4 separate regions of the Homo sapiens genome follow, and all the other regions are linked to region 3. Evidence: promoter capture Hi-C in 16 types of primary human blood cells and fetal thymus (Javierre and others, 2016). All regions are on one chromosome and are shown on one strand. The core of a region is centred on a gene start or on the middle of the fragment in contact, and the rest is flanking DNA. Distances in the headings are between cores, read along the strand shown.

Region 1 (7,619 bases), core at 1,760-4,259, 1.9 Mb before region 3:
CATTTTTTTGTCTTTGAATTCCTATTGCCATTTCATGTTCCTACTGAGTTTTATCCTAGTAACACATTTTTATGCTTGAAAGTATTTTCTTGATCTCAAATTATAGTTCTCTCTGATACAGATTTGCATATAAATTCAATTATTTTAGTTTTTATTTATTAAGACCATAAGGTTCTAAGTGATGGCTGGAAGGAAGGAAAGGAAGGAAGGAAGGAAGGAAAGTAGGTTCTGGATTGAGTTATTATTACAATTATTACTATACAATTAATAAAATATTTTGATAACTATTATTAAGAGTAAAATGTTATTGAATGTGCATATCTTCTTACTAAAATGAATAGGCTCCCTCTCAAGTAGTTCATGTATAAATAAATTAATATTGCCAATAATCATATTTAGATGATCCATAATCAAAATTATTAGTAATGTTCTAGTAGCTGACAATTTAAGATGATCTTCATTTTGACAAAGGCAAAGAATTGGAAAGTACCTAATTTTCAAAAATATTTGTTACATAGTCACTAGTCAGTTTCTTTCTCAATTTCTGGGAAATATGCTAAAAAAATTTTTTTACCAAGTCTTATTAAAGGAACTCTTAGTTATACCACTTTCTCTTCTGCCTAGAAGACCTAAAGAATGAGTGTTGAGATTAACTGAAAAGAATTGCTTCAGTTTACCTACATGAAAGGAGAAAAGAAGTCATTTAAGCATTCATGATTCTTTTTTTTTTTTATTTTAAGTTTAAGTTCTGGGGTACTTGTGCAGGATGTGCAGGTTTGTTACATAGGTAAACGTGTGCCATGGTGGTTTGCTGCACCTATCAACCCATCACCTAGGTATTAAGCCCTGCATGCATCATCTATTTTTCCTAATGCTCTTCCTCCCCCAGTGCCACACCCAACAGACCCCAGTGTGTGTTGTTCCCCTCTGGCATTCACATTTCTGACTGAGGCTGTGTTTGCTTTGTTCTTACTGACTCTAGAGAAAGATACAGTCTTGGACAACGTTTTGAAAATAGAAGAGGCAAGGTTATTAAATGATCATTGCTATCATTCCCACCATGCTTCTCTTCAAAATTTCTAAATTTAGAACATTTGAATACTTTGTTTTCTAATCCATGTTTCATCCATAACAAAAATATGTGTAAAACGGGCATAAACAGGAAGCCAATGGTGAGATTAAAGTTTCTCAATGATCATTAAGGAAGATTTTCCTGCAACCAAGTTTTAGAATTGTCCCTTTGTCTGGCATCCTATAAGTTTCTGAGTCTGCAGATTTGGGATGGGTGAAGGGTATGGCTTTTATAATTAAGGGGAAAGGCTGCCTGTGAGCATAGCAGTGGGGAGGCTGAACTGGCAAGTCAAGAACTGCATACATGTGGTAATTCAACATCTAGAGATTGATGCCTTTAAAACATCTGTATCCATGTATCCATCACCCTTGGAAAGCCTTGGTTAGAACCTCTAGTGAAGCCCATTCACAACATTCAGGGTGGACCAAACTCTGCTTCAATATCCTGTATCTCAGGGAACTCATCTTCTCCCCAAGAAGTTTGTTTCACTTTCAGCCTACTGTAATCATTAGAAAATATCACAGGAGACTCTTGCCAAGTGAAAAATCAATCAACTGATAAGTTAAATTTGAGTGTTAAGTTTTTTAAAGTGTGGACTTTTTATTTGCCAATAAATTCTAGCTTTGCTTCATAACTGTTGGAAGATTTTGGATGACTGTCATCATCTTGCATAATCTCAGTTTATTCATCTGTAAACAGAAATGATAACACTGACCTTTCAGAGTAACCATTCTTAAAGATTACAGATAATGTGTGAAAAGCCCCCAGCACAATGCGGGGCGTGATACAAACACTAAATGAAGAATTATTGTCATTTAACTAATTCCTGAGCCTTCTAACTGTCCCATCATGCAGCTCACATTTCTAGTACTGTTCCAGGAAATGGTAAAACACTTAGTCAAATGCCTCACAGCAGTGCAGATACACTATTCTGCAGTATCCTCCCATAGCCCAGCACAGTAAGCCTTTTCCAAAGGAATGGAAGTTCGTAAGGCATGGCTTATTCTTTGTGAACTCTTGTTAGCTGCTGGTTTTCATCACTTTTATTTATTATTTGTTTATTTATTTGTTTGTTTTTGAGATAGGGTTTTGCTCTGTCACCCAGGCTGGAGTACAGTGGCGTGGTCATAGCTCACTGCAGCCTTGAACCCTTGGGCTCAAGGGATCCTCCTGTTTCAGCCTCTCCAGTAACTGGGACTACGGGTGCATGCCACCATGTCCAGCTACTGTTTTTTGTTTTGTTTTGTTTTGGTGGGGGGGTGGTAGAGACAGGGTCTCACCATGTTGCCCAGGCTAATCTGAAACTCCTGAGCTCAAGCGATCCTGCCACTTTGGTCTCCCAAAGTGTAGGGATTACAGGCGTGAGCCACCATGCCTGGGCATCACTTTTTTTTTTAATACATGCTCCAGGTGACCATGTTAATAATTCCTCTTAAAACGTTGCCCTGTATTAACATAAACTCATTGGTTAATAGCATAAAAAATCCACCTTCTCTTTCAAAAATTCATTCGTCCATTATCTCTTCCATGTTTCACTATTCCCCAAAATTATCAAGGCGGATATGACAATCCTCTGCACAAGCTTCTTCCATTTGCTTGGGTGTCATTTCTTGGACTAAACATGCACTTCTCCACTGAGTGAGGAATAAGAAATAGTGGGTCTTTTGAGGGTTGTTTTATTTTTACAATAACTGCTTTCAACCATATTCTGACAAATATCCCTTTGCTTTCTCTTAATCATGTCTTGGGCAGACCAAAGAATTTCCTTGTCATTTTCCATAAACAAAAATTCAGTCTATTTCAACATGTCAATCTCCTTTCTCATTTAAAACTTTCCCCATCCTGTCATCAGCTAAAATGTGGGAGGAGGACTTGGGGGTCAGGGAGAGCGGGAAGGGATATTGTCTACCCTTCAGCTCTTCTTCCTCCTCCAGCACCTCGGAGGGTCTGGGTGGGGATTCATGTTCTAGGCCAGTTCTGAGTCTAGTATTCCTCCATGCCTTCCCTTCCCAACGTTAACTACGCTAGCATTGAGGACGGGAGAAGAGAAAAGAGGGAGGGAAACATCTTCCCACATAAGTTGGGGGAGGCTGCCAGGAACCTGCGTTCTCACTTTGGCTCTGTTTTCCATCTGCTGCCGGAGGCTTCTGCTGATGTGATGCTTTCCAAGTGGGTGATGTGCGTGGTATTTTAGGGGAGATGTTCAGTTTCATCCTAATCCCCTGCGTTTCCAAGAACCACACCCTGCGAAGAGAAGGAGGCAGCTGTTTCCCTTCAGCTCTGACAGCAGCTCAAGCTTCAAACCCACTTTCTATAAATCCTGGAATCTCATGCAGCCACTGCAATCCCTCATAAACTTTCAACTCACCTACTCCCTACAGGGAGGGGAGAAGCTAGGCCACTCCTCATCATGTCCATGATCTCCTTTCTCATCCCTTTCCCCATCTTCTTAGGTGAGCTGGGATGAGGTTCAGCTATGGGGGCTACTGCTGAACATGGAAAGGATAGTTTAGGCTCCTATTAAAAAATCCTGTCAGAAATATTGGGTCCCAAGTTGATTTGCGTTCCTTAGAATATGAGGTACTTACCACTTCTGTGCACTCAGCTTATTACCGGACAACAGAAAAAGCTGTACTCAAAATCCTGTTACAAACCCATGGCTGCTTAATGGCCAGAACCATGGTGAGAATTGCAGGCCCCTTCCCATCTCAACCCCACGGGTCTCTGCCCTGTGCGAGGATGTGGGTCTCCACCTGAGAACCTCTGGCCTCTGTTTTCATAAGACCGTGTCTTTATATATGGAAACGAATAATTTCCTAGTCGCCCTTCAGCCTCCAACTTATCACAGACTATATCTTAGTTTCTTTAACTTCTTCAGGTTTAGTCTAAACGCTTCATCTGTGTTGCTGTCCTATAAACCCTAAGTGGTATGTACTCTGTTCTCATAATAGAACTTCTGTTCTTCTCTCCATTTTTATAAATACACTTGGCTGGGCGCAATGGCTCATGCCTGTAATCCCAGCACCTTGAGAGGCTGAGGTGGGTGGATCATCTGAGGTCAGGAGTTCAAGACCAGCCTGGCCAACATGACGTAACCCTGTCTCTACTAAAAATACAAAAATTAGCTGAGCGTGGTGGCATATGCCTGTAATCCCAGCTACTCAGGAGGCTGGAGTGGGAGAATTGCTTGAACCTGGGAGGTGGAAGTTGCAGTGAGCTGAGATCGTGCCATTGCACTCCAGCCTGGGCAACAGAGCAACTGTCTCAAAAAATAAAATAAAATAAATAAAAATACAGTTGCTGTGCTCCCCCATCCCCATCCCAAAGGTTGTACTAAAATGGGGGAAGATCAAAAACACTGAGACACCCTAATTGGAGAGAAGGTGGAAGTGAAGATAAATTGAAAGCCTATGTCTTCAGAGGAGAGTGGGGGCTTTTGTGGGGAATATAAGAAAGGTGGTTGGATGCAGTGGCTCATGCCTGTAATTCTAGCACTTTGGGAGGCTGAGGTGGGTGGATTGCCTGAGCTCAGGGGTTCGAGACCACTCTGGGCAACACAGTGAAACATCGTCTCTACTAAAAATACAAAAATTAGCCGGGCGTGGTGGCAGGTGCCTGTAGTCCCAGCTACTCAGAAGGCTGAGGCAGGAGAATTGTTTGAACCTGGGAGGTGGAGAGCGAGACTCCACCTCCAAAAAAAAAAAAAGAAAAGAAAGGTGACCAATATCCCTACATTCCCACTAGGCACACAGAAGTGGGAATAAATAAGGAAATAAATAAATAAGGAAATAGACTTGAAGAATGATGTTTGAGTTTGGTTTTTTTTTAAAGCAGAATTTTGGCTGGACGCAGTGGCTCACACCTGTAATCCCAAAACTTTAGGAAGCCAAGGTGGGAGGATCGCTTGAGTCCAGAAGTTTGCATACCAAGACCCTGTCTCTCTATAAAAATAAAAATAAATAAAATAAATAAAAGCAGAATTTTATAATAGTGAAGAGGAAGTACTGAAGTGAAACATAAAATTATCTTCCCTGGGAGTAGTGAAGGTGGGGGCTGGAGGATAAAGACCTGCCTGTCTGGCTCTCTTTTGCTCTGCTTTTTTTTTTTTTTTTTTTTTTTTTTTTGACAGTTTTGCTCAGGCTGGAGTTCAATGGCGCAATCTCGGCTCACCACAACCTCCACCTGCTGGGCTCAAGCAATTCTCCAGTCAACCTCCCAAGTAGCTGTGATTATAGGCATGTGCTACCACACCTGGCTATTTTTGTTTGTTTGTTTGTTTGGTTTTTTGTTTTTTTTTAGTAGAGATGGGTTTCTCCATGTTGGTCAGGCTGGTCTCAAACTCCAGGCCTCAGGTGATCCGCCCGCATCTGCCTCCCAAAGTGCTGGGATTACAGGCATGAGCCACCCTGCCCGGTTGCTCTGCTTCTTAGTGGAGACCAAGGGGGTGGATAGGATTCATTCACTCATTCAACAAATACTTACTGAGAGCCTCTAATGTGCTAGGCAATTTTAAGTGACAGAACTGTAGAAGTGAACAAACCAGGCAAAAACAGATAATAAACAGTCAATGAAGTATCTATTCTGTCAGATAATTCTGGGTACGGTGGAGATAAACAAAAGAAGAAAGGGAGGTAGGGAGAGGCAGATGTGGGGATGAGAGACTGAGAGTGGGATGATTGTTTTAAATAGAGTTGCAAGGAAAGACCTGGTGGGGAAGGTGACCTTTGAGCAGAGCCGCAAGTAGAGATTACAGATAGGTCAGCAGACCGTTGGGGGAAAAGCATTCCAGGCAGAGGGAACGGCCAACACAAAGGCCTGGAGATGCAAACATGTAGAGCACGTTCCCACAAGAGCAGACAGCAAGTGTGGCTGGAGCAGTGAGGAGGGGCGAGTGGTAGGAAATGAGGTCAAAGAGGATGATCAAAGCCTCAGATATGTCATTCTTTAATTTTATGATTCAGTGCTGCATTTATGGAACACCCCTAAGCACCAGAAACAAAACCATGCCCAGGGGAGGCATTTAAAAAAAAAAAATACTAAAAGTAGCTACAGAAACTGTTTGGGTATCAACTCTATCAGAGGTAAACGGCAGTCTCTTTCTGGCTAAAATATAACGTTTTCAAGTCTCTTCTGCTACATCAAGCCATAGATAACCTACCAACCATCTATGATTAAGAGTTTTCAAATTTAGGCATGGTCTTTTAACTTGACTGTAACAAAAAATACCAACATAGGAGTAAATTCAATGGGAAATTTTACAACCAAACTATAAAGAAGCCTAATGTGGCAGTGGATTAACGCAAAATCCAGATACCTGTCTGTGTTCCTCAGACTCATCTCTTAGGGACATTTGTTTACCTTGAATTTTGCTGGGATTTACAGGCTTGGGGGAACAGTTCTGTGACAAGTGCCTATCAATACCTACAGACAGCTCAAAAAGAAAGGCCTGGATTTCTTTTTCCTTGGCTTTCTTCTCGCCTCTCCCCACCCCCCGCCCCAGAGCAGAACACTGAAGGATCTGAGAGAAAAACCCTGCAGCTCATCAAGATCAAGGCAGGCATTATATTTCAAGTTGAAGTTCAAAACAGCTTGCTTTTTGCTGAGACGTCTTACTTCCTGAAATCAGATGATGCCTTTTAGTACTTCAGCGTGCTGAGTCACAAGCGAGCTACACACTCGCTCTTTCATTTCAGGCTGCCAGGCTGAGAACTCGTCTTCCTCCATGGTAAAGGGAATGCAAGGACCCAGTTGAGAACACCTTTGGAAGAGGTTTCTGTGAAGCAGAAACCTCTCTCCTTGCTTTATTTTACCTTGAGGAAATTGGACAGCCCAGAAGTAATTTTTTAAAAAACTCTGCACGTAATCTTTACATAATATCACCTACAGCTGCCTAAAGACTGCAGTGTTGATTTTATTTTAGCTTATGTTTACCCATTTATTGTAGCGTATTCAAAGCACGGATGACAAAGATATTAGAAAATTCTAGCCCTCCAGAGAGCCATTCAGATTAGAGCCCTGGAAGCTGAGAAATAGTTGTTGCCCATGGCTCAGTCTTGCTGGAAGACAGGTTTTGGTGAATTAGTGACTAACCAATAAAAATTGGACAATTTCACATAAAAAATCCAAATTTGGAGATGCCTTTGGAAACTTGAAAGATCTGCTAACACTGGACTAAAATTTCTGCATAGGAACAATCGGCGACTCCTCAGCCAGACCCGGAGACAGAATGGGTGCTGGGAAAATATGACGTCCTCCCTGGGTCATCACTCACCTGATACCACTGCATTCCTCCCCAGTAGTGCCTGTCCCCGTCACATGCACCTGGAACCCTCACCCAGTCCAGCCACTTTGACAGATGAGGAAAGTGGGGTTCAGAGAATCATAATGACTTATCCAGTGTCACCCAATTAGGTAAAAGCAGGAGCCAAAAATCTTTCCAAGATGCTCTTATTCCCTGGGACTCCAGTTGTAAATGAAATTGGGCCACATTTGAAGCAGTGTTTCAGATGATATTAGCTCTGAAGTGATTTTAATTATAAATCATCAC
Region 2 (6,800 bases), core at 827-3,326, 1.2 Mb before region 3:
ACAGTAAAAAAAAAAAAGACTTTCACCTTTGTTGGTCATAAAAGTCAGCTCATCAACTCTGCCACTTGTGACATGAAAGCAGTCATTTGTACTATGTAAACAAATGAAGGTAGGTGTGTTCCAGTAAAACTTGCCAACCCTTCGTATATAGCAGTGGTTCTTAATCATGGGTATGCACGTTGGTATCACTTGGGAGCATTACATGCCGTAAAGGGTCTCTCTTCTGTGGATTCCAATTTAATTGGTATGGAATGTGGTTTGGATGTGGAATTTTTTTTAAAGTTCTACAGGTAATTTTATGAGTTAAGGCTGAGATCAGCAAATATTACTATATTGGAAAGAGCCTAAATTGAGTCAAACATAATGAATTTAAAATTTAAAAATAAGCTGTGCCACCTACCCCCTGTAGTCCATGATCAAATTAAGCTCTTGTCCTCAGTTTCCTCATTAAAATATTGTGTTGATTTTATAGAATTATTATGAAAATGAAGTGACAAATATGAAATAACTCTTGGTCATGGCAATCCTCCTTAAACTTGGAAAAGACTATTGAGGTTATTCATATCAGTTTTCCGGTGCTGTGTACTTTCTACCAAATGCCAGATAGATGGTCTTAGCCTCAGCTTGATTTTTTGACTGCTTGTAAAGACTTCCCTAAGCAGCTTCCAGTGTAGGATGACTGATTATTAGGTAGTCATTTTAAATGTAGCCAAAATTTGCTTCTCTATAACTTCCTAATTCTGTCGTTGGGAATAGTGTAATTTATTATTTATTTATTTATTTATTTATTTATGTTTTTTGAGAGACAGAGTCTCCCTGTGTCACCAAGGCTGGAGTGCAGTTGCATGATTTTGGCTCACTGAAACCTCCGCCTCCCAGATTCAAGCGTTCTCCTGCCTCAGCTTCCCAGGTAGCTGGGACTACTGGCGTGCACCACTGCACCCAGCTAATTTTTGTATTTTGTATTTTTAGTAGAGGGTTTCACTATATGTTGGCCAGGCTGGTCTCAAAAACTCCTGACCACAAGTGATCTGCCCACTTTGGCCTCCCAAAGTGCTGGGAATACAGGCGTGAGCCACTGCGCTCTGCCTGGAATAGTATAATTTAAACCTAACCTAATTCCTCTAATCTACCTGATAACCCTTCAAATGTTAGACGTTTAAAGAGTCCTGTTTTTGTAGGCTATGTGCTCTTCTGCCCATCTTGTGATGAATACACACAATTTACTCTTTCCAGGCAAGTTCTGACCAATATAGAACATAGCCTGTGTTTACCAACGTTAAGGCCTTCCCAAGGTCATTCAGCTAGTAAGAGTAGAAAGAGGCAGGTTGCATATTTAGGACTATGCTGCATGAAAACCTTGAAATTAACTACTAAAGTAGTAGATTCCTATCTTTTTTAAAAAATTAGTTCCTTTTAACTTTAAAATATTTTTATGATCCCCTTCATCATTAGTTATGCTTTAATTTCCATTTATTGAGAAAACAGTTGTCCATGAAATAAATGCTTTTAAATAAATTTGAAGTTCTATAGCAAACATCTGAAAAGTCTTAGTGAATTGTTCAATCTGCAAACAATGCTTGGCATGTTTGGATTTGGCGGGGGTCTCTTCTAGTTACTGTGTCTTCCCTCAGGTCTTCAGCACAGAGTTTGTAAGATACAGTTCTAATAACGCTGTCTTGTATAATGTTGAAGCTTTTGTTTGGGTGCCTTTTAAAGATTGAGATAAGAAGGTGTACCCATAGCTGCAGGGTTTTTATTCAGATGGTATTTTTTTATCTTGAAATTAACATATTTGTTGTTTGACTCACTACAGAGTCATATTTGTTGTTTGACTTCACTTCAGATCATTTCTTTTACACAAGAATACTTTGAAGGTAGAACTCAGAAAAGTTAGAAATTTCTGTCCTAAGAGAATATGCACATACTGGGATTATGGAATAATTAAAACTGTCAGCAAAAACTAAAATCTGGGTAATCAAATAAGGGTAAAAATGATGTCGTGAGTGAATTGCTCTGATAATGTAAAAATTTCAAAATCCTTGTCTTGCTGATTTGCAACCAGGAAACATTAAATTTTAGCCAAATAAAGTAGATAACCTGAGATTAGAAATTGAATTACAGAAGTACAGATAACTAGTGCCTAAATTTGTTTTACAACGTGTATTCACACATGTTGTGTCCCGTTTAACTAGAACAAGTCAGGTGTTAATCTGATTTTTTAAAATCACTTTATTTTGCGGGCTCATGGAACATGGTTTTCTGAGCCTAGATTTTTAAATTTATACCTGTCATACTAGCAACTTCTACCTATTATAAATAATTTTACTCTGTATGTACGTTGCATGCATACATACCTTATTTTGAAATGACAAAAGAAACAAATTAGCAAAATAAAGTAAAATTGGCAAAGAAGTTAAGAGTGCTCATCATGGATATAAATGTGGTTGCCCTAATTAAGCTTTTAATTGGCTCTAAGATACAAAACAGCCTTACTCAAAAGAGAAAAACATACCAGTTCTACCAGGATGACAAACTTCCTGGTACTGACTTCTGAAAGGAATTTCTCCAGTGGGATTTTTTTATGTAGTTGACACCAAGTAATATAATGGACAGTTTCCTTAGATGTTTTCTAGTAAATGCAGCAGTCGATTATTATATTTTTAATCTTTGCCACAAGCTGATGTAGTTCTATGTAAATGATTTTTTTTCCTTATGCCATACGAATACTCAAATGTAAGGTAATTTTAGTTGATTAAAAGATAAAGTTTAGAATTCTTTTAAATAACCTGGAAGTTTCTTTCACCTAGACTTATGATGGAAAAATAGTTTTGCAGCATTTTTAGGTTTGCGTTAATCCTTACAAGTAGAGTTGAAATCAGGTTTAAGCTTTGCACTTATTTGTGTAATTGCTTTTTTGGTAAAAAAGCATACAATTTGGTACTTTGAAAACTATTTTGAGAAAAGAATATCCAAACTAGATAGATATAAGAAATCGTAATAAGGCATATATTTGAGGCAGAGTCTTGCTCTGTCACCCAGGCGGAGTGCAGTGTCATGATCATGGCTTACAGAAACCTCAACCTCCTGGGCTCATGTGATTCTCCCGCCTCACTCTCCCGCAATCAGCCACACAGAGTACTTGGAACTACAGGTGGGCGTGCACCACTATGCCTGGCTAATTTTTTTTTTTTTTTTTTTTTTTTAAGTAAAGGTGAAGTCTCGCTTTGTTGCCAAGGAGACTGGTCTCAGGCTCAAGGGATCCTCCAGCCTCACTTCCCAAAGTGCTGGGATTACAGCCTTGAGCCACTGTGTCCAGTCTAAAATATGTTTCAAAACCATGGGACATGGCTTTGGTGAAGGAGACTTGGGCTTTAGATTCAGTTTTGCCACAATGCTAGCCTTGAGTGTATCCCAGACAGCCTCCCTAATGGGAAAGAAGTAAAATTTCTACCTTAAAATTCTGAAATCTTAATAGTTCTGAGGACCCAAAGCTTTTTCTTAATCATTTTGGCAACAAATCAGCTATTTATATTTTTTTACTTCCTTAAATGTGAATATTCATGGGTTTTTTTTCTTTTTTTCTTTTTTCTTTTTTTGAGATAGAGTTTCACTCTTGTTGCCCAGGCTGGAGTGCAGTGGCGTGATCTTGGCTCACTGCAACCTCACCTCCAGGGCTCAAGCAATTCTCCTGCCTCAGCCTCCCGAGTAGCTGGGATTACAGGCATGTGCCACCATGTCTGGCCAATTTTGTATTTTTAGTAGAGACGAGACGGGTTTTTTTCATGTTGGTGAGGCTGGTCTTGAACTCCTGACCTCAGGTGATCCACCCCCCCCCCAACCCCCGCCTCAGCCTCCCAAAGCGCTGGGATTGCAGGCGTGAGCCAGCACGCCCTGCAAATATTCATGTTTTATTGTATAAATATTAGTGTTTTGTATAAATATTCATGTTTTCATTATAGGGTGCTACTCCAGACCCCACATGGGGTGTTACAGTCATAGCTATAAAATCTGAAAAATTCTGCATTCTAAATCTTACCCCAAGGGTCTCACGTAACAGATTTATGGATCTGAATTAGTTTTTATTCTCTTAGGAGATTCCGAGTGTTTTGCTAAACCTCTTAGGCATCCTATGGAGTATGCTATGAAGGATGAGATGCAAGTCAGAATTTAATTTCATTTTTCATTAGCAACTTGGGGGGGTTCTAATAATTAGGGGGAGGGTGCTGAAGGCCAGATGCTTACTTATGTATTTATTTATTTTATTTTATTAAGAGACAAGATCTCCCTCTGAGGCCGGGTGCAGTGGCTCGCGCCTGTAATCCCAGCACTTTGGGAGGCCGAGGCAGGTGGATCACGAGGGCAAGAGATCGAGATCATCCTGGCCAACATGGTGAAACCCCATCTCTACTAAAAATACAAAAATTAGCTGGGTGTGGTGGCGCGCGCCTGTAATCCCAGCTACTCGGGAGGCTGAGGCAGGAGAATCACTTTAACCCGGGAGGCAGAGGTTGCAGTGAGCCAAGACCATGCCACTGCACTCCAGCTGGGTGACAGAGCGAGACTCAGTCTCAAAAGAAGAAAAGAAAAAAAAAACAGCTGGGCACGGTGGCTCACGCCTGTAATCCCAGCACTTTGGGAGGCCGAGGCGGGTGGTTCACAAGGTCAGGAGATCGAGACCATCCTGGCTAACACAGTGAAACCCCGTCTCTACTAAAAATACAAAAAAAAATTAGCCAGGCATGGTGGCGGGCACATGTAGTCCCAGCTACTTGGGGGGCTGAGGCAGGAGAATGGCTTGAACCCGGGAGCAGAGGTTGCAGTGAGCTGAGATCGCGCCACTGCACTCCAGCCTGGGGCACAGAGCCAGACTCCATCTCAAAAAAAAAATCTCCCTCTGTCACCCAGGCTGGAGTGCAGTGATCATAGCTCACTGCAGCCTCAAATCCCTGGGCTCAAGTGATCCTCCTGCCTCAGCCTCCTGAGTACCTGGGCACACCTACAGGCATGGGCCACCACTCTTGGCTAATTTTTTTTAGATTTTTAAAATAGAGACAGGGTCTCGTTATGTTGCCCACACTGGTGTCCAGCTCTTGGGCTCAACTCTCCTCCTGCCTCAGCCTCCCAGAGTGCTGGGGTTGCAGGCATGAGCCACTGTACCCAGCCCTGATGCTTATTTTTAAAAATAAATAATAGTTAATGAGTTATATGATATACTAATGCATAAGAATCTTCAGTATTTAATTTTAAAAGATGGTAGTAGGCAACCATATGGTAGGTGAAATAGTAGTCTGCCACTGTTTCCCCTTTTGCTGTGCTTACTGTTGCTTTCCTTCCCTGTATCATACTTGACCCAAGAAGTGGCTACACTGTTGATTATTACCTGTAAGTTAGAAACTCTTTAAGTGGTCAGAATAAAGCTGAAGAGCTGAAGAAGTCTTATGTGGGTCAGTTAAGGCATTTTTGTGACTTCTTCCTGCTGAAGGTGTTAAGTTGTCTAAACCATATAAATGCCAGTCCCTGAAAGTTTTTTATAGAACTGAATTTTTGGTTTCTGATACAGACTTAATATATAGTAGGGTGACCAGATAGTGTAAATTTTCATTCAAAGCTTTACTCTTCAGAAATGTTATAACTTTCTGGGAACTCCAAAATAGCTTTCCACATATAATAGGAAATTTGGAAACGTTTTTATTTAAAATCTAAAGACACTGAGCAATAGGCCACATAATGTCAAGATTGAGGAGTCCCTTATGCGGAACTTATTCACAATAGGGTGACTGTGGGGTAGAAACATACTCAGTGCCATGTGATAAATGTTAAAATTAGATTATTTAAGATGCATGACGGGGTGCAGTGGAACAGTCCTAACTGCCCAGAGGAGTTGGGAAAGCTTCATAGAGAAGGCAGTGTGAGTGGATCTTTTGTTATGTAGGAGTTTGCTAGGAGGGGAAGAAGAGCATTCGTTGACTTGCAAGATGGGAAGAAATTGGAATAAGTGGGTCGAAGAATAGAAAAGGGGTAGTGTTGTGGGGACATCTCCAATTTCCTACTACCTTGTCTATAGGTATAACTAGTTATTTTTGTATTGTAATAAATTCTGACTTGTTTTACAGACTCTGAAGTAGTGAGTGGTTTTTTTAACTAGAGATTTGATCTGTTTATATTGCATTTAAGACTAAAAAGTTTAAGAGCATTTTTCATGGATTGGAGGTGGGGCATGTACTGGGGGGACCTGTTAGGGAGAAATAACAGCACTTTGGAATAATGCAAGGAAGAAACAGTTGAGCCTAGTCTAAGTAAGATGGGGCAGTCACTTGTCAATGAGTTTGCGAGTGAAAGGGAAGCTATTTTGAGTTTAAAAGGCTGCTACAGGAACTGTAAAGGGTGGTTTATATAATACATTTGCAACTGAATTTACTCTCCACTGAAAGGAGAAAACTGAAGAGAAAAAATCTATACCTGTTTATGGGGGGGAAAAGCACCAAACACATTTACTTTTAGTTCTGAAACTGTCACCGTAAGAGAAACTTGTGCTAATATGTGTTTATATGAAAATGAAAGTTGAGTAGATCTGAGTCTGAGTTTTTATACAACTTGTTTAGCTGTTTCTTAAAACTTCTTTCCCAGGGTCTTGTCTCATATCTTTTCAAGAATATTTGTGTTCTGAGAAAATCTGGATTAGTCTGCACTTGCCTAATGGTTGGAATATTGAGAACCACAAGCAAATAGTCAGGGAAACCTTTCCAACTCAGTCTTGTTTAATTTAGCATTCACAGGCAGGTGCTGTACTACTCACT
Region 3 (7,196 bases), core at 1,558-4,057:
GTCCAGATTTCCCACTCTGGCAACTGTATGGATAACCGTCACAGTCTACTGAAACAGGGAGCAACAAAAAAAGAGTCAAGTTTGGGATATAGGTAGGAGTTTGAGAGATCAGGAGTTTAATTAGCGGAAGATGAGAGGCCTCTGTAAAATCAAAAGATGTCAGTTAGGCAGCTGAATCATGGATCCTGAGCTCACAGGAGAGGTATGGCCTCCATGTAGAAACATGTAAGTTACTTGAGTAGACAGCAACTGAGGTCCTGAGTCTGGATAATCACTGGATAGGCATGATTGACAACTGTGTAGAAATGTGATCCCACAAAATCAGTATGATCCAAATGGAACAGACTGACTGTGGAAACCCAGCAAGGACTGTCCATTCGGATTCATCTTGGCCTCTCTGTCCAGCATTCCTTTCTCCTGTATATGGGGCAAGACCCCTTGTGAAATGGAGGTCTTACGATCTACAGTCAGACAAGGTAGGTCAGAGAATTTCTTCATGGCTAGTTCTAAGACAGAAAGGTGGGCCAAGATTCCTGTCAAGGGCTATGGGAGTTATGAGCCAGGAATGGTGGATGCAAACTATATATATATATATATACACACACACACACATACACACATACACACACACACACACATACACACACATACACATATATAATACAGTAAATATACTTTATATACTATATATTTAGATACTATATATAGTATATATACCATACATAAGTATATTTAGATACTATATATAGTATACCATACATAAGTATATTTAGATACTATATATAGTATATATACCATACATAAGTATATTTAGATACTATATATAGTATATATACCATACATAAGTATATTTAGATACTATATATAGTATATATACCATACATATTTAGATACTATATATAGTATACTATACATAAGTATATTTAGATACTATATATAGTATACTACACACAGTATCTTTAGATACTACAGTATACTACACATAAGTATCTTTAGATACTATGTGTAGTATATATACTACACATAAGTATCTTTAGATACTAATGTGTAGTATATATACTACACATAAGTATCTTTAGATATATATATCTAGTATATATATACTACACATAAGTATATATACTACACATAAGTATATATACTACACATAAGTATATTTAGATACTATGTGGAGTATAAATACTACACATAAGTATATTTAGATACTATGTGGAGTATATATACTACACATAAGTATATTTAGATACTATGTGGAGTATATATACTACACATAAGTATATTTAGATACTATGTGGAGTATATATACTATACATAGTATCTATGTGTAGTATATATACTATACATAAGTATATTTAGATACTATGTATAGTATATATACTATACATAAGTATATTTAGATACTATGTATAGTATATATACTATACATAAGTATATTTAGATACTATGTATAGTATATATACTATACATAAGTATATTTAGATACTATATATACTATACGTAAGTATATTTAGATACTATATATAGTATATATACTATACATAAGTATATTTAGATATATATACTATAAATAAGTATATTTAGATACTATATATAGTATACATTAAGTATATTTAGATACTATATATAGTATATATACTATACATAAGTATATTTAGATACTATATATACTATACATAAGTATATTTAGATACTATATATACTATACATAAGTATATTTAGATACTATATATACTATACATAAGTATAGATACTATATATAGTATATATAGTATATATACTATACATAGTATATTTATGTACTATACATATAGTATATTTATATACTATATGTAAGTATATATGTAAGTATATTTATGTACTATATATAAGTATATATACCTAAGTATATTTAGGTACTATATATAAGTATGTATACCTAAGTATATTTCTGTACTATATATAAGTATATATACCTAAGTATATTTCTGTACTATATATAAGTATATATACGTAAGTATATTTCTGTACTATATATAAGTATATATACGTAAGTATATTTATGTACTATATATAAGTATACAGAAGTATATTTATGTACTATATATAAGTATATATACTATACATAAGTATATTTATGTACTATATATAAAGTATATAAGTACATTTTATATATATTTTTATATATAGTTATATATAATATATGAATAGTTATATATATATAAATCACAGTACATTTATTGATGGGCAGGGTCCGTAGTTTACTCACTTTCATTTTCCCAAAGCCATAAACACCTGAACTGTTTCCTGCTGTTTCTGTCCTGGTCACAGCCTTCCAGCGTAGGAGCCAGGCCACCTTCCTTTTTGCCACCTGTCCCAGCACCGCGACTGCGGGCAGCACAGGACCTGGGCGCTGCCCCATCACTTAGAGTGACTACCTGGGCCTGGGGATGCACCAAGTTTCTAGGAGCTTTTCGGAGTTGGGGACATAAAAAGGGGCAATTATTCCACAGAAGCCGCCACAGAGGTTAAGTGAGGTCGCGTGAGCGAACCGCTACTCCAATGCCGGAACTGTTCCCGGTCGCCCAGGGCAGCTCCGGATAACGCAGCAGGCAGGGGTCACCCAGAGGCTGCCTCCACCCTAGGCGCCGACCGCGCACGGCGCTCGCGCCCGCTCCTGAGGAGGGAAGGGGCCTCCCTGGAAACCCACAGCGCCCGCTGAACCCGGAGGGTGCGGTGAGGAAAATAACGGTCTCACCTTGAGTCGGAGGACGTCCGGCTAGCTCTGTGAACGGTGTTACCGCACTCGTCTCTTCCGGAGGTAGAGGGGCTACTCGCAACAGGAAGTTCCGCCCTTAAAAACTCCATTCCTGAGGGGGCGTGGTTGCTTTGCTGGGCCCCGCCCCGAGCTGCGCCCTGCGAGCCTCTGCCAGGCCGGGCCGGGTCCTGACCCGCGCTGGAGCATGGGATACTGCCTCTTCATTCTAGCTTCTGGTTCTTTTCTCCTGCTTGTCTTTTCATCTCTCAGTTTTTAAACATTACTTCTCTCTTTACTTTGCCTTTTTCTTCTTTCGTCCTCCATTCATTCACGGTTTCCCATTTAGCTTGCTTTCTTCTTTCTCCCATTTATTCTATAGTACTATTTTGACAAAACCCAGATTGCAGATATGATTCCGATTATGCAGCTTTTAGGTGCTAACCTAAAGCTGGTAAACCTATACTAGATTAAAAAAAAATAAACTGATAACCAGAACCAACTGCCCAATTCTTGATAATTTACTTACATACTATTTATTGAGGACTTACTATGCTTCAAGCAATTGTGTGGGGTTTTATTGTTTTGTTTTTTTGAGACGGAATTTCACTTTTGTCGCCCGGGCTGAAGTGCAATGGCGCGATCTCGGCTCACTGCAACGTCCGCCTCTTGGATTCAAGCGATTCTCATGCCTCAGCCTCCTGAGTAGCTGGGATTACAGACGCCTGCCACAACGCCCGGCTAATTTTTGTATCTTGTAGAGACGGGGTTTCACCATGTTGCTCAGGCTGGTCTCAAACTCCTGGACTCAAGTGATCCGCCTACCTCGGCCTCCCAAAGATTACAGGCATGAGCCACCACGCCTGGCCGAAATGTGTTTTTATATGCATTATTTTCCTTAAAGTTTTAACAGTTTCTTGAAAAAGGTATGATTAGCTTTGTCAGACAGATGAGGAAACTGAGGCTCAGAGTAGTTAAGTGATTTGTCCTCAGGTCACACAGCAAGAGCAGAGAGTGAAACACACTGAGTTCAAAGTTTTGGGGTTCAGAAAATGATACCCCACAATGAAGGCCTCAGAAGCAGCCTTAGAAGGAAAAATTTTCCTCTGACTCCTTTTGGTCTCCTGTCTCTGGTCCCACATTCTTCCCCAGACTAGTCATAGAAGCTAGAATTCCTCTTTCCCAAATCAGGTCCCAGAAATCAGGACCCCTTTTTTATAAAGCCAGCCATAAAACATAAAAATACTACTCTAGGCCAGGCAAGGTGGCTCACGCCTGTAATCCCACCACTTTGGGAGGCCAAGGCAGGCGGATCACGAGGTCAGGAGATCGAGACCGTCCTGGCTAACACGGTGAAGCCCCGTTTCTATTAAAAACACAAAAAAATTAGCCGGGTGTGGTGGCTGGCACCTGCAGTCCCAGCTACTCGGGAGGCTGAGGCAGGAGAATGGCATGAACCTGGGAGGTGGAGCTTCCAGTGAGTGGAGATCGCGCCACTGCACTCCAGCCTGGGCGACAGAGGGAGCCTCCGTCTCAAAAAAAAAATATATATATATAGAGAGAGAGATATAGATAGATAGATAGATAGATAGATAGATAGATAGATAGATAGATAGATAGATATTACTCTAGCATTCTCCCTGTGTTTCTATGTAAAATCTGACCACGAAGAAATTATATGACTCACCCTGTCTGAGTTTAGGTCATAAGACCCCCATTCCAAAGAGGGTCCTATGGAGAGAGGCCAAGAAGAATCTAAGCAGACAGGTCTTACTGGATTTCCCCAGTCTAATAGCATTAGGTTATACCCTCTTTGTCCAACCATATTCTACACAGCTGTCCATATGCTGTTGAAACTAAGCATAAAATGGACTGTCCCCTTATACCTTTGGGTCTTCATTCTGAAGGCTCCCAAGTCACATAAAACTATGATCAAATAAAATCCTTTTCTTCTATTTATCTGCCTTTTGTCAGTTGATTTTCACCAAACCTTCAGAGGACAAAAGGGAAGTTTTTTCTTTGGCCCTACAAAAGTTTACACACTGAGAATATATGGCACAATGAGATCACATTATATGAGGTACAAGGACTAGTTATGGTCTTAAAATGTTTCTTCTTCTTGAAAGAGTTGGCCAGGTGCAGTGGCTCATGCCTGTAATCCCATCACTTTGGGAGGCCAAGGCAGGCAGATCACCTGAGGTCAGAAGTTCAAGACCAGCCTGGTCAACATGGTGAAACTCTGTCTCTACTAAAAATACAAAAATTAGCCAGGCATGGTGGTGGGTGCCTGTAATCCCAGCTACGAGGGAGGCTGAGGCAGGAGAATCGTTTGAACCCCGGAGGTGGAGGTTGAAGTGAGCCGAGATAGCGCCATTGCACTCCAGCCTGGGTAACAAAAGTGAAACTCCATCTCAAAAAAGAAAGAAAGAAAGAAAGAAAGAAAGAGCGACATCGTGGTACATACACCATCATAGTGCAAAAAGCATTGCACAGATATAAGATGTCCTAGCTACAACTGGACCAGGAAAGTAAGTTAGTTATTTGGCTCTTTGCTTAGGAAGTTACTGTTTCTGTTTGTTTAATCAAAAGACAAAATGTCACCAATATATTTCAAATGAAATGTCTTAGAGATGAGTAATTTGGACTGGACTCAATTCTCACACCTCACAAGGACCAATAAACATCTTTAATCCAAAAAGAGTGATGCCTTAGGTATCCGGTTTGGATGTCTATCAAATGATACTTTATTTTCTTAGAAAAAAAAAAAAGGCTTCTGAGGCTAGTTTTTCGGTTCTTCATTGCCAATCTTCTTAAAATAAAAATATTGCCAACCGCATGCTGACAAGTGCTCATTCGTAACCAACTAATATTTCCAAAGTTTTAACAGAAAAGTCATCGGTCATCTAAGTTTATGTAAATGAATGTGGTTTCAGTGACTTGAAAAAACTGCTAAAATCAGCATAAACAATTTGAAGTAAAATAAACTAAATATCAAATATCCCTTCAAATGAAAACCTTACAAGCTTCCTATGTCAGGTGAGCAGGAAGTCCAGTTTTTCCAAGAGGCCTCACCTCAACAGCTACTTCACATTGGTTCTCAGGTAACTCACTCAGTATTTTTCAGTCCAAAGAGGCCGTTCTGCTTCCAAATGCCTTACCGAAAGTGAAGTGAAAATCTGCCGGTGCACAGGGAAGTCTTAGTGTTCAGGCTCGATTATAGTGGGGCTGGAAACTGGTCTCACAAATCCAAAGGATCTTTTCTCTGATGCTGTGAAGGTAGTTCACATGGCTGCAGAGACCTCAGTACAGGATGCATGGCCCTTGAGTTCCCAAAGGGGCATTTTTTAAAACTACAGTCCCATCTGCAGCCATTGTTCCCAAACCTAAGAATATCTGCTGTGCCCAGGTGGTTGTCGGGGGCAGGGGACAGCAGCACAAACTCTGCTTCCTGGCATGATGTCCAGCTCCTCACTCTTCCAACCTTCCCTAAGGGGAGTTCCCTCTTGGAGGCCTTTGGTATCCTTTCCTGTCAGCTGACTCCCATCTATGAGAGAGGTTGTAATTACGCTGAACCTCAGAATGAAAGAGAGGTGAGATCCAATGCCCCTGACACCTCCCCAGACAGCTGAGTGTACACAAGAGAGTTCTAGGGAAGGGTGGCCCTGTGAAGCCACAAAGTGGTCTGGTCATCCTTCCCAGTGGGCAATAGGTGCTTCCTTGTTCTGTATTTGTACAATAAAGAGGGGCCATAGGAATTCCTTCCCCAGAAATTGTGGGCATCTTGCCAACTACACTTAGTCTTTGGAGATGACTTCTTTTTAAATAACCACTCTCTTCACTAAAAAATAATTCAGGTTCCACATGCGAAGACGTTCTTGGTTATAATAATTATTTAAGTGGACTTTGATTTAAATGATCAAATATAAATACACCATGGCAGCTGTTCAGGGGTGGAGTGTCCAAGGATATCTAATAAGATCTCATGTTTGATATAACAGATTGGAGTTGCATATATTGGTTAAGACTTTGACATACCCTTATAAGGCCAACAGCTTTCCAAGATATAAAAATATATATCATAAAATTGTTATTCTTGGAAGAGTGTATCATAGAATCATCTCTTAAGAGCTGGAAAGAAACTTTTTTAAAAATTGGCATAACCATTCTATCTCTGGATCGTTATTCTATCTTATAGAATCGTGGCTGTGGAAAATAGTTGGTATGAACTCAACTGATTAGTCAGTCTGCTTTATGCCTCTCATTCTTATTTTTTTAAAAAGGAATAACTTGGGTCACCCCATCCCTATCCATATTTTTGGACAAGTTTTACTATGTAAAATCTGTCCTCCTTGATACATCTATTAAAGAAATAAAATATACTCCAAATTCCATCCATGCCCTTGCAACTGCTTTATAAGATCATTTAAATATGCATAATGTAACAAAAATAATAATAGGGCTTACC
Region 4 (6,870 bases), core at 2,550-5,049, 1.7 Mb before region 3:
GCAGAAGATAGAAAATAGATAAAAACATCATAGCAAACTTAAAAGAAAACAGTACAGAAGAATAACAAATACGAAACCTGACTTCTATGACCAACTCAGCCAATAAACAGCGAAAAAAAAACCCTGAATAAGTCATTTAACTTCTCTAGATCTGTTTTCTCATTTGTAAATTAAAGGATTGGATAACTATAAATTTTCTTCCAATTCTATAAGGTAGTAGGAATTCTTAAATATTCTAAAATATAAAAAGGATTTTATAAAACAATACAAATTAGAAATGGGAGACAACATCCTACCCAGTTACCTCTTTTAATGTAGACAATAAAAACAGCTGGGTGCAGTGGCTCACCCTGTAATCCCAGCACTTTGGGAGGCTGAGGTAGGTGGATCACCTGAGGTCCGGAATTCGAGAACAGCCTGACCAACATGGGGAAACCCTGTCTCTACTAAAAATACAAAATTAGCCGGGTGAGGTGGTGCATGCCTGTAATCCTAGCTACTCAGGAGGCTGAGGCAGGAGAATCACTTGAACCCAGGAGGTGGAGGTTACGGTGAGCTGAGACTGCGCCATTGCACTCCAGCCTGGGCAAAAAGAGCAAGACTCCATCTCAAAAAAAAAAAAAAAAAAAGAAAAGAAAAAAGAAAAAAAACAATAACAATAAAAGTAATGAAATGGTATATATACTTTAACTACTTCATACTGGTTAGCAAGAAAAAAATTTCAACATGCATCTCCAAAAATGACCCACTTCTATTAACCGTGCTATAATAACTTTTGTTTCTTTAACACTAACCAATAAATGTTACGCTCGCAACAGAGTTCTTTTATTGAAATAAACGTATTGGTGGCTCAAGGTGATAAGGTACTTACATTTATCTCTCTCCCTCCTGAAATCCCATTAAATGATGGTAAAATAATAAATTAAAAAATTGTAAAAATTATAAACTCTCAATATTGAAGAGAACAGATGGAGAACAAAAGTATACAAACATACTTTCTAGTGGACAGAAAGCATGTGGAAGAGTGATAATTAATGAAGCAGAGTGAAATTCAAGAAGAAGAAGCTGTGAAAAAAAGAAAGCTATTCTATCCTGAAGTATTCCATAAAGGTATGGAGCTCAGTCATGCCAGGCTGCAGTGAGAAGACAAGCTGAAAACAAGGAGAATAGCTAAAAACAACAGAGGCAGGGCAGTCAATATTCTGTCAAGCACAAAATTCCTCAAGTGCATAATATCTGGTAATAGGCATGTATTATCCTGTCAAAAATAAATATATTTTTTCTCTTCCCTTAAAAAAATCAAACAAATTGTACAGAGGAGAGCCAAGTTTGGGATGGTTTGTTATGCAGCAGTAACTTATACTGTTTCTATAACCTATAGAAGCAGCAAAGAAAAGACTCCAAATGACAGCTGTGCAGCAAGCATATGAACAATTTGTGATGATTCAAATACGAGGGCTCCCAAAGGAAGGCTGGGAAGTCTGGCCACATGGCTTGAACCTTGGCTCTACCGCTTACCAGCTCTGGGGACAGGTCTGTGCACTTAGAATCTCTGTGCTGCTGTTTACTCATCTTATAAAATGGTGTTTGTAATTATATCTATCTATTTTACAAGATTGTTGTAAGGAATAAATGTGTGGCCATATGTAAAGCACTCAAATAGTGTCTGAAGGTAAACAGACCCTGTCAAAAACTTTAGCTTCTTTAAAAATTAATTTCTTATAGACTCAGTCACCACCATCAAGTTTTATTGACTAATCTAGTATTTGTCAACCAAGATGATTTCCCCCCTGCCACCCCCACTCCAGGGGACATTTGGCAATGTCTGGAGATGTGTTTGATTGTCATGACTGAAAAATCAACAACTCTTCTTAGATGCATCTGAGAGGTGGGGGTCACAGGGAAAACTGCTGTTCTCAAATGTGGAGAGACAAGTGAATGCAGAGAACTACTGAAAAGAAGCCTCCAAGAAGAAACCTCTGTGGGAACCAGTGCCGAGGTAGGGAAACCCGAGCTGTAACTGGTGAATTGGTGGATGCTCAGTGGGACAAGTCTGAAAGTTAAAAACTCCAGAGAGACTCAGTTATTGGGGACTCTCACACTTTTGTGAGTTTTAACTCCAGGAGCTCAACCTGGTCCTTACAGTGAATATAGGAGAAAAATCCCCTTGTACTTCAGACGGCAAGTTCTGTGGGGAATAGAACTATTTTGAAATACATCAGAGCACTCTCTCTTATTCAACAATTCATTTATCAAACAGGTGTTGTCTTTTTAATATACATTAAGCACATATATAAAACTATCATGCATATGACATGTGTCCTCAAGGAAACTCTTCAACCAAAGCCTAAACACTTGTCAGAGCCTAAGTGTCCTGGAGGAAGGGAAATAACCAATTCTAGCTGGCACTAGTCATTCTGTCCTACCAAAAGAGAGGGAAACACTGAGAAGCAAATGTGCAGTTCATAGTCCAGAGGCACAGGCTCACTAGAAGACTGAGACCCACTCATAAGACTATAGAACACTTTCCCTCCCCACACACCCTATCACCACATTACTAAAGGCCGATTGACAGCCATTCCTTTTACCCAATACATCATGCCCAGCTATCAAAAAGAAATTACAAGATAGACAAAAAAGCAAAAAACACAGTTTGAAGAGACAGAGCAAGGATCAGAACCAGATTCAGACACAGCAAGGATACTGAAATTATCAGTCCAGGCATCTAATACAACTATGATTAAGACACTAAGGGCTCTAACGGAAGAAATAAGATGTAAGAACAGATAAGCAATGTACGCAGAAAGATGGAAATTTTAAATAAGAATCAAAAAGAAATGCTAGAGATCGAAAGCCCTGTAACAGAAATGAAGAATGCCTTTGATGGGCTTACAGGTAGATGACACAGCTGAGGAAAAAAAAAAACTGTGACTCTGAAGATACCTCAATAAAAACTGCCAAAACTGAAAAGCAAAGAGAAAAAAGATTGAGGGAAAAATTGAACAGAATATTCAAGAACTTTGGGACAACTACAAAAGGTGTAAACTAATGGGAATTCTAGAAGGAGAAGAAAGACAAATACAGCAGAAATATTTGAAACAATAATGACTAAGACTTTCCTTCAAATTAATATCAGACACCAAACCACAGATCCAGGAAGCTCAGAGGACATCAACCAGAATAAACACCAAAAACACTACATCTAGGCATATAGTATCATTTTCAAACTACAGAAAAATCAAAGATGAAGAAAAAATTCTAAAAGAAGCTTGGGGGGAAAACAGCTTTCCTACAGAGGAGAAAAGATAAAAATTATATCCAGCTTCTCCTCATAAATCATGCAATCAAGAAAACAGTGGAGTGAGATATCTAAAGTGTTAAGAGGAAACAAAAAAAAAAAATACTAACCTAGAATTCTGTACCCTGACAAGTTATCCTTCAAAAATGAAGGAGAATTAAAGACTTTCTCAGACAAATAAAAATTGAGGGAATTTGTTGCAAGTAGACCTGCCTTGCAAGAAATGTTTAAAGAAATTCTTTAGAAAGAAGAAAATTATAAAAGTCAAAAACTCAGATCTACATTACATAAAGAAAGGCAGAACACAGAGAAGGAATATGTGAAGGTAAAATTAAAACTTTTAAGTTTTTAATTAGTAATTGATCTAACAATTAACAGTTTGTTCATGTTAAACAATTTGCTAATAATAAAAGGGTTAATTATCTGAAGAAGTCGGAATAATCCTTAATGTGTACATGCCTAAAAATAGTCAAAAACCATGAGGCAAAAACTGACAAAACTGCAAGGAAAAATAGATGAATCATTACAGTTGGAGACTTTAATGTCCCTCTATCAGAAAAGGACAGATCCAGCAGGGAGAAAATCACTCAGGATATAGCTGAACTCAACAACATCATAAATCAACTGGATATGATGGACATCTGTAGACAATTTCATCCAGCAACAGCAGAATATATATTCTTCTCATGCCACATGAAACAGTCACCAAAACAGACCACATTCTGGACCATAAAACACACCTTAACAAATTTAAAGGAATAGAAATCATGCAATGTCTGCTTTCAGACCACACTAGAATTTAACTAGAAATCAGGAATAGAAAGATAGCTCAAAAATCCCAAAATTCTTAGAGTAAACAAATACACGTCTAAATAACATGAGTCAAACAAATCTCAAGAGAAATTTAAAAATACTTTGAACTAAATGAAAATGAAAACACAACTTATCTAAAATAAAAATTAGCACAGAAAGCAATGAAACTGAAAACAGGAAATCAATAGAATCAACGAAAGCAAAAGTTGGTTATTTGAGGTAAGCTTCTAGCCAGACTAAGAAAAACAAAAAGAGAGGACACAAATTACTAATAATAGAAATGAAAGAGAGGACATCACTACATATCCCATGAACATTAAAGAAATACTATAAACAACTCTATACCCACAGATTTGATAACCTAAATTAAATGGATTAATTCCTTGAAAGACAAAGTCTGCCAAAATTCAAGTAAGAAGAACAGATAATCTGAATAGGCCTATGTCTATTAAAGACATTAAATCAGTAATTAATATACTTCCAAAACAGAAAGCCCCAGGTCCATATGGGTTCACTGGTGAGTTCTACCAAACATTTAAAGAAGAAATCAAACCAATTCTCTACAATCTCTTTCAGAAGATAGGAGTGGAACTTATCCTATGAGGACAGTAATATCTTAATATCAAAACCACACAAAGACATTACAAGAAAAGAAAACTACAGACCAATATTTCTCATGCATGTAGATGCAAAAATCCTCAACAGAATATTAGCAAATCAAATCCAACAACATATAAAAATTATATACCACAACTGAGACTTACGACAGGTTTAACATTCAAAAATCAAAATGTAGACAAAGCATTAATAACCAGGATATATAAGGAGTTCAAACAACTCTATAGGAAAAAAATTCTAATAATCCAACTTTAAAATAGGCAAATAATCTCACGCCTATAATCCCTGCACTTTGGGAGGCCGAGGCGGGCGGATCACAAGGTCAGGATATCAAGACTATCCTGGTTAACATGGTGAAACCCCATCTCTACTAACAATACAAAAACAAAACTAGCAGGGCATGGTGGCAGGCGCCTGTAGTCCCAGCTACTGGGGAGGCTGAGGCGGGAGAATGGCATGAACCCGGAAGGAGGCAGAGCTCGCAGTGAGCCGAGATCGTGCCACTGCAATCCAGCCTGGGAGACAGAGCAATACTCTGTCTCAAAAAAAAAAAAAAAAAAAAAAGGCAAATAATCTGAATGGACCTTTCTCGAAAGAAGACATACAAATGGCAAACAGGCTTATGAAAAAGTGCTCAACATCATTATCATCAGAGAAATGCAAATCAAACCTACAATGAGATATCATCTCACCCCAGTTAAAATGGCTTTTATCCAAAAGACCAGCAGTAATACATGCTGATGAGGATGTGGAGAAAAGGGAACCATCATATACTGTTAGCGGGAACATAAATTAGTACAACCACTCTGAAAAACAGTTTGAAGTTCCACAAAAAACAAATAACCAAAACTAAAAATAGAGCCACCATATGATCCAGCAATCCCACTGCTGGTTTTATACCCCAAAGAAAGGAAATCAGTATACTGAAGAGACATTTCCCATGTTTGCTGTAGCTCTGTTCACAATAGCCAAAATTTGAAAGCAACCTAAGTGCCCATCAACAGATGAATGGATAAAGAAAATGTGGTACATATACACAATGCAGTACTACTATTCAGTCATAAAAAAGAATGAGATCCTGTCACTTGCAACAACATGGATAGAACCAGAGGTCATTACGTTACGTGAAATAAGCCAGGCACAGAAAGACAAACTTTACATGTTATTATCTGTGGGAGTTAAAAATTTAAACAATTGAACTCATGGAGACAGAGTAGAAGGATGGTTACCCAGACGCTGGGAAGGGTATTGGGGGTTTGTACCTATTAACCATCCCCACTCCCCTATATGTGATATAGTATACTTATAGTATATAAGGGGGTGGGGATGGTTAATGGGTACAAAGAGTAGTTAGAAAGAATGAGTAAGACCTAGTGTTTGAGAGCACAACAGGGTGATAAGCAATAATTATTTAACTGTATATTTAAAAATAACTAAAAGAGTTTAATTTGATTGTTAACACAAAGAGTAAATGCTTGAAGGAATGGATACTCTATTTACTATGATGTGATTATTACATGTTATATGCCTGTATCAAAGTATCTCGTGTGCCCCCTAAGCATATACACCTACTATGTACCCACAAAAATTAAAAATAGAAAAAAAATGTAATCCATCACATCAATTGGCTAAAGAAGAAAAATCACATGGTCGTATTTCATTTCGTCAAATGGAAAAGCATTTGACAAAACCCAATACCCATTCATAATAGTAACTCTCAGAAAACTAGAGAAAGCTTCAACTTCCTAAAGAATATCTACAAAAAACCTACATATGTAATGGTAAGTAACTTGAAACTTTTCCTACTAAGCACAGGAAGAAGGCAAGGATGTCCCCTCTCATCACTGCTTTTCAACATTGTACTAGAAGTCCTAGCTAATGCAATAAGACAAAAAGAAAAAATAAAAGTATACAGATTGGGAAGGAAGAAATAAAACTGTGTATGATCATGGATGGCATGATGACCTATGTAGAAAATCAAAAAGAATCAACAAGAAAAAAACCTCCTGGAATAAGTAATTACAGCAACATTACACAATATAAGGTTAATATACAAAAAACTATGTGGCCAAAGTATTGGTAGTCATTAATGTGTAAACCAAGAGTATGAGACAGGTCTAAATCAATTTGGAAAGTTTATT

Evidence for each region. Contacts are between HindIII fragments. The CHiCAGO score rates a contact against its expected background, and 5 or more counts as called.
Region 1: a contact is called between a fragment that was not itself captured here and the fragment with the promoter of IMPA1 in region 3, in 1 of 17 cell types (total CD4 T cells). The highest score is 5.8, in total CD4 T cells.
Region 2: a contact is called between a fragment that was not itself captured here and the fragment with the promoter of IMPA1 in region 3, in 1 of 17 cell types (naive CD8 T cells). The highest score is 5.2, in naive CD8 T cells.
Region 4: a fragment that was not itself captured here is called in contact with the fragment with the promoter of IMPA1 in region 3 in 1 of 17 cell types (total CD4 T cells); the score reaches 5.2 in total CD4 T cells.

Annotation. Positions count from the first base shown.
Region 1 is chr8:79,754,369-79,761,987 of GRCh38, forward strand. No RefSeq gene overlaps it. Among named protein-coding and RNA genes, the nearest start is that of HEY1, 9.6 kb to the right of the region's middle. The HindIII fragment of the contact is 714 bases long and covers 2,653-3,366 here.
Region 2 is chr8:80,502,734-80,509,533 of GRCh38, forward strand. All of the region lies in intron 2 of ZBTB10 (zinc finger and BTB domain containing 10), which reads left to right. Among named protein-coding and RNA genes, the nearest start is that of ZBTB10, 20 kb to the left of the region's middle. RefSeq lists an enhancer at 484-984. The HindIII fragment of the contact is 766 bases long and covers 1,694-2,459 here.
Region 3 is chr8:81,683,518-81,690,713 of GRCh38, forward strand. IMPA1 (inositol monophosphatase 1) reads right to left here and starts at 2,808. Exons shown (of 9, transcript NM_005536.4): 1 at 2,735-2,808. RefSeq lists an enhancer at 2,554-3,054. The HindIII fragment of the contact is 6,947 bases long and covers 1-5,752 here.
Region 4 is chr8:80,013,025-80,019,894 of GRCh38, forward strand. All of the region lies in intron 5 of TPD52-MRPS28 (TPD52-MRPS28 readthrough), which reads right to left. The region is part of intron 1 of MRPS28 (mitochondrial ribosomal protein S28); the gene reads right to left. Among named protein-coding and RNA genes, the nearest start is that of MRPS28, 14 kb to the right of the region's middle. RefSeq lists a silencer at 3,730-4,024. The HindIII fragment of the contact is 1,067 bases long and covers 3,267-4,333 here.